Regions from separate parts of the Homo sapiens genome. Here region 1 is linked to region 2. The links are contacts of gene promoters, found by promoter capture Hi-C in blood cells and fetal thymus (Javierre and others, 2016). All regions are on one chromosome and are shown on one strand. The core of a region is centred on a gene start or on the middle of the fragment in contact, and the rest is flanking DNA. Distances in the headings are between cores, read along the strand shown.

What was found. Contacts are between HindIII fragments. The CHiCAGO score rates a contact against its expected background, and 5 or more counts as called.
Region 1: a contact is called between a fragment that was not itself captured here and the fragment with the promoter of SPHK1 in region 2, in 1 of 17 cell types (M1 macrophages). The highest score is 5.1, in M1 macrophages.

The regions. Positions count from the first base shown.
Region 1 is chr17:76,148,624-76,151,620 of GRCh38, reverse strand. The region is part of intron 18 of RNF157 (ring finger protein 157); the gene reads left to right. The region is part of intron 6 of RNF157-AS1 (RNF157 antisense RNA 1); the gene reads right to left. Among named protein-coding and RNA genes, the nearest start is that of FOXJ1, 8.9 kb to the right of the region's middle. The HindIII fragment of the contact is 1,711 bases long and covers 765-2,475 here.
Region 2 is chr17:76,382,518-76,385,858 of GRCh38, reverse strand. It overlaps SPHK1 (sphingosine kinase 1), which reads right to left and starts at 1,250. Exons shown (of 6, transcript NM_001142601.2): 1 at 1,053-1,250; 2 at 205-408. The coding sequence starts at 214. RefSeq lists silencers at 883-1,582, 2,163-2,302, 2,323-2,612. The HindIII fragment of the contact is 9,575 bases long and covers 1-3,341 here.

The sequences.
Region 1 (2,997 bases), core at 371-2,870, 230 kb after region 2:
GCTCCAAAAACTGCTTTTCTAAAATCCACATCTTGCCCAAGCGGACTGAGTCAAATGTCCCCTCCGGGTTTCACGACAGAAATTGTCCTTCACATCGTGTTGTTTGAATCCTCTTAAACATTCCCTGAACGAAGACTCACTTCAGCTTCAGAACAGCCACATCACGGGTCCAGTGCTTTACTCGCTCAGCGACGTGGCTGGAGGCGTTGGAGCCACACGACCTCTGTGGTTGCCACTCTCCATCAGCCTGTGCAAGACACAGTCCAAGCACACTCTGGCCCCACACAAGCTTGTGGCAGGGGAAGCTGGAATTCTCTAGAGATACTTTCTCCAGCCCTTCAAAGGGCTTTCTTGAGTCATTTTCTATTTAGTTTGTTCTAAAGACACTGCCCAGGCCTCTTCATTTTCAGTGAGACCAAAAGAGGCAGTATCAGTTCCCCTGCTTCTCCTGCGCAGGCCCAGGGAAGACCCCCTTCCTGCCTGAGCGTGGAGGAGGGAGCGTTGACCACGGGGCCAGCCTCCTGCCAGTTAGGCCTGGACTGGAGCTGCTGGGGCCCAGGGGCTGCTTCACTCCCTGCCTTCCCGCTCCTGGCCTGGCTTCCATCTGTCCATTTGTGTTTCACATCATTTTGCCAAATGTAAATCTGTCTGTCTGGTTTGTTTATTTTCTAAACTCATGTATGTTCTCTAGACTTGGTATGAAAGTTCGTGTTCACTCCGTGCCAGCACTGTCCTCCCTGCCAATGCTTCACCCCGTCCAAGCTTGCTGGGCACGCACACACCTGGGAGGCGCTCGCGTGGGGCTGTGAGCAAGGCTCCCATTCCTAATTGGCAAGGGCCTGTATCCAGGGTACTAAGAGCTTATGAGAAAAAATATTTGTGAGACTGTATTAATTTCTGCTTTACAAAAATGGGAATGCTTCTGTGGCAAGGGCTATGGAAAGGATTTGGTTTTAACTGGCATCCTCTGTCAGTAGTTGGGTGAAGATGATGTCTCTTTCTTAGCTGTGCCCTGTGTCTGAGGCAGCTCTACCCTGGTCAACCCCTTACTTGGCTTTAGGAGAGAAATTTAGGTTCCTGCCTCCCTCAAGGGACTCCCTTACCCACCCCTATTTTTTTGGCAGAGGGAGCTGCTGGGAGTTGTTTTAGCCAACAGTGCTAGTGGAAACAGCTTATTCCTCCTCTTCCTGACTCCCTCCAGCTAACCTGCTTGTTGATAGTTACTCCATGGAATCATGGGAGGAGAGTGAGGACTGGGAGGAAGAGAGAAGCCCTGGGGTTCCCTAGGGTGACTTGTGGAGCCAGCTATTTAGAGATTATGGTGGGCTCACAGTTTGTGCCAGACACGAAATCAAATGCCTGTGTTGGCTCTCGGGAGAGGGCCTCAGGTATAGGCATGTTAAGTGTCCCATTATATCCTCACCAGAGGCCTCAAGATGAGGGGCTGTATTCAATATACTAAGATTTTCCAAGAAAAAAAATATGTGTGAGACTATATGGATTTCTGTTCAGTAAAAATGGGAACGCTTCTGTGGCAAGGACAATGGAAAGGATTTGAGTTTTTTTGTTTTTGTTTTTTGTTTTTTTTGAGACAGAGTCTCGCTCTGTCGCCCAGCCTGGAGTGCAGTGGCGCGATCTCGGCTCACTGCAACCTCCACCTCCTGGGGTCAAGTGATTCTCTGCCTCAGCCTCCTGAGTAGCTGGGATTACAGGCGCCCGCCACCACGCCCGGCTAATTTTTGTATTTTTAGCAGAGACGGAGTTTTACCATGTTGGTCAGGGTGGTCTTGAACTCCTGACCTCAGGTGATCTGCCCACCTCGGCCCCCCAAAGTGCTGAGATTACAGGTGTGAGCCACTGCGCCCAGCCATGATTTGTTTTTAATTGGCATCCTTGGTCAGTAGTTGGGTGAAAGTGATGTCTCAAAACCTCTGGTTGCCTTTTTACTTGAGAGGGAAAAGCACGTCTCTCTAGGCAGAATGTGTCTCTGCTTCCACTGTTAGCATCACACTGGCAGAAAATTTGCTGGAGAACTCTCTGGAAGTGTCTGCTAGGTTACAGACAGGAATATCCACTTTGGTAGGTCCCGTGGAATAAATAGGCGTCTTCACACTCAGCTGTAAGTTCAGCTTTCTATCCTGGGGCTGAGATACCACTGGCCGTCTTGGCGCCTCATTGCTCCTGTGGCCAGCTCTCTCCCGTCAGAACAGCTGCACATGCGCCTGGTCTCTGCTTGAGTCTATTTCCCTCTTCAAGTGGGTGCCACTCCCTTCATGGAGGGCCAGTGGGAAATGGAGCCCGGGCTGCATCCCATGTTGTCCCTGTGCCCTGCACCTTGCTCACGGGCTCTGCCAGGAGACCTGGCTGGTGGCAAGGACTGCGAACCTTGTTGGTTCCCGTCCTCACCACTCTGATAACACTGGTGAGGGGCTTAGAGGCACTTTTGTCATTCTAGCCCTCTCCCCCTAAGAAGCTTCTGGGTCTTCCAGGGCCCCAAGACCAAGGGTGGATTTTTGGTTTTTCACTGGGGAGTAGTGTGTTCTGAGATTCCTTCTGAAAGGAATAAAGGAAGGAGATCTCAGTTGATGGGTGTGACAGGTTGTAGTAAGACTAGAATTGCGAGACCACGCTAAGCAGATGTGGCTCTGAGGAGTTTGGCAGACTGTTACATAGGTGGCAGGAAAGTCATCGTGGCAAGTGATAGTTCTATGAAGGCCCTGGGGTAGTCAGTGATGGAAAAAGGCAAAGATAGGCCGGGCACAGTGGCTCACGCCTGTAATCCCAGCATTTTGAGAGGCTGAGGCAAGTGATCACTTGAGCCCAGGAGCTGGAGACCAGCCTGGGCAATGCAGTGAAACCCCATCTCTACAGAAAATACAAAAATTAGCCAGGCTTGGTGGCGTACGCCTGTGGTCCCAGATACTCGAGAGGCTGAGGCAGGAGGATCAATTGAGCCTGGGAACCGGAGGTTGCAGGGAGTCAAGATCACACCACTGC
Region 2 (3,341 bases), core at 1-2,500:
CGGCCTTTGCTGGGAGACCTGGGGTGGGGACGCGGCGCCCCTGCCACCCCCTTCCTTGGCTCAGATTCGGCCGGCTTCTGGCCTCGTGAGGGATAATGTTTCTCCCGATCGTCCACAGCCCCTTTCGTCCAGCTGGGCGTTCCATCATTCCTGGCGAGGAACAGGAATCCCCCTACAGCCCTTCCCAGCAGGAACCCCACAAACCTGGATCCATAACCTCGACCCGCGGCTCCCGCTGCCAGGGGGTCCCTGGCGCTGTGGGGGCGCTGCCCGTGGCGGCGGCTCCTGCCTTCAGCTCCTTATCGGTGCTGCCCAGGCGGGCGTCGCAGGGCCGGCTGTGGGGCTCGCCTTCCCCGCCCGGAGCCGTGGCTGCAGGAGCACCGGCGTCATTCCCTGCGGCGGCTGGACCTGAGGGAGAGAAGACAGCGCTGGCGGAGTCCGGGGCCGCAGCTGCCAGAGGTGGGGAGCGCCCGACTAAATCCCGGGACCACGCGCGGGGAGCCAGGTTCCCGGGAAGTCCAGAGAGCTGAGGTCCGGTGCCTCCGAGGGCGCCCCCGCCGTGTGACTAAGCCTACAATCCCTGAGAAGGGCGCCTGCTCCGGGGCTTTCTCCCTGGGGCTTGGGGTTCGGTTCCGGCCCGACGGATGAGTCAGAGCCCCGTGGCTCCCTCCGACGGACTAGCTCCTCACCCCTCGGGGCTGCCAGGGGGAGGGGAGTCCAGCTGCGTAAAAATCCCAGAACTTGAGCGGACATTGCTGGGCACGAAGTTCTGGGAGAGGATCCCTGCCCCAGCCATCCAGGTTGCCGTGTCCCCTGCCCGGAGCTCCAGAGCGGTGGGAGCCGCGGCGCGCGCTTCTCAGGGCCCCGCTCCGTTGCGACGCGCGCGGCGCTCGTGGGAGCCGCTCCCGGGTCGCGCCAAAGCCAAGCCCGAACCGGGCCACCAGCTGCCGCCTGCTCTCGCCCAAGCGACAAGTGGCCCAGTTCCCGGGGCCCCGCGAGGGCGGGCCGCACAGGAGCCACGAGCGGCGCGAAGGCAGGGTGGGCGGCCCTACCCAGTCGGTCCGGTTTGCTGGGGAGGCGCCACCGCCGTTCCCTACAGTGGCCTGGGGCGGAACGCAGCTCGTCCCAAGCTCAGCCCACGTCTGAGGGACTGGAGCGCCCCGCTGGAGCGGACTCCCCGGCCTCGCTCCCTCCGGCCTCAAACTTTTCGCTCAACTTCGCAGCCGGCGCCGCGGAGCGGGGAGGGCACTGAGCCTCGGCGCCGGCCTGGCTCCGCCCCGCGCTCCCGGGGGTGGAACCTGAGCCCGGCGCGGCCTCGGCCTCTGCCCGCCTCCGGCCTCAGCGCGCCGCCTCCGGCACGGCCCGCGCCCACGGCCGGGCCACGAGCTGGTTCCCGCCCGGGTCCTAGGAAGCGGCAAGCGCGCCCCCGCCGCTCGTCCTAGGCGTCTGGCTAGAAGGCGGCGCCGCGACCTGGCCGGGTGAGCTGAGGCGGCAGGCCGCGAGGCGCGGAGTCCCGGGCCCGGCCGCGAGCGCAGTGTCTGGGGCGCGCGAAAGCGACCGCGCAGCGCAGACGGAGGCGCGGGCTCCGCGCGAACTCGTGTCGGAGCGAGCGCCGGGCGCGCGCGGCTCCGCTCTCCCGGGGGACCCTTGGTTTCACCTCGACGCCACGACCTCGCCCCCGCGGGTGCTGTCGGCGCCGGGATGCAGCGCCCCTTTTGCGCGCTCTGCCCTAGCCCACCCGAAATTCGAGGCCCGCACGCCACCCGGGGCGCCTCTCCAGGCCGGGGCGTCTCGCCCGCCGCCCACCAGCTTCCCTCTTTCTTCCTCCCCCGCGCTCCCACGGAGGTTATTTTTAACTTCCCGACGCTGCAGCTGGGCTACCGAGCCTGAGGCCGCCTAGCGCGCTGTCCCGGGTAGAGCAGGCGACAGGCCGGGGGCTCCGAGCCGGAGAGGAGGCTTGACAGTGTAGATGGGCCTGGGGGCCCCCGTCGGGATTGGAAAGCCAAGCATGTGGTACGTGCCCCCCGCCCCCTCTGGCTCAGCGTGAAGAAGGGGCGCCGGAAACGCGCTCAGAAGTTGTCACTTCTTTGGAGGCCAGTAGGGACGCGTTTGTCAGTGTGTTTGTGATACACTTATCGCGGCAAGCCACAGAACGTGTCCGCGAGCACCTCGAGTTAGATCCCTGGGGGGTTACGGCGGAGACGGAGGAAGAAGTTGCCAAGGCCCATTGGTGACCTGCCCAGGTAGGGCCAGAGTTAGGAGAAACCAAGCCCCTGCGGGAGGCTGCGGGGCTCGCGCGCCCCCGCCGGCCCCACCCGCCCCCACACACCTCTCTCATCGCTTCTTAAAGTCGAGAAGAGGCAGGTCCAGGAGGAGCACGCAGCCAATTAGCCGGGCGGCGCCCTGAACTCCGGCACGCCTCCGCGGTGTCTTCTCTTCCGGAGGACCCAGGCAGCTCGGCCCCGTTTCCCAACACTTGGGGGGTCAGACGGGCGGGACCCGAGAGTCCCCGGGCGGGTCGGGGGGCACTGGCTGGGACGCGGGGTCCCTGGGGCCGCAGCTCCGCGCGCGTATCGGCGGGTGCGCCTTCGCCTTGCGCGGCCCCCGGGCAGTCCCCGCTGGGTCCAGAGCGTCCCGAGCGCGTTCCGGGAAGGTGACTCAGCGACGCGCTCAGGGGTCGAAAAACTCCGAGAAACAGGAACGAGGGGAGGGAGCAGGGGCGTCATCCCCGACTCCTGGCGTCGCGGCGCGTGTCGGAATGATGGGTCCTGCACCTCCGAGCCCCCCACCCCCTTGCTCCAGGAATCCGGCGCGGGCGGGGGAGAGAGCCCTGCAGCCGCAGTGCCGCGGTCATGCGCTGCGGGGACGCGAGCGGCGGCTGTGGGAGGAGGGGGCTCCGCGCGGGAGCCCAGGACCAGATCCGTCCGCCCCTCCCCTCTCCTCTGCCTTCTTCCCCTCCTCTTCCTCCAGCGAGGGACTTTGGTGCCTAGAAAACGCGAATCGGAGGCTGTGCTCCCCGAGATCTCAGCCTTCGAGGGTACTGGCTGCGGAGATTAGCTGGGGCAGCCTTCCCCGTCTGCTCCCCGCCCCGGAGAGCATTTCCACCAAATCTGAAAAGCTCTGTCATTAGCCATAGAGTCTGAAGAGGGGAAACTGAGGCACAGGGAAGCACTGTGAGTTCGTGGTGATAAAGCCCACCTGGTTCAGGGTCCCCCCTTTTTTTTTCCTCCTGGGGCCCCAGAAAGGTCGGATCCTGCGCCTCCAGGCCCACTACCACCAGCCTTGAGTCCGCGGAGCGGGCGGGGGCGGGGTTGACTGCAAACTGAGTTGGCAAGGGGAGG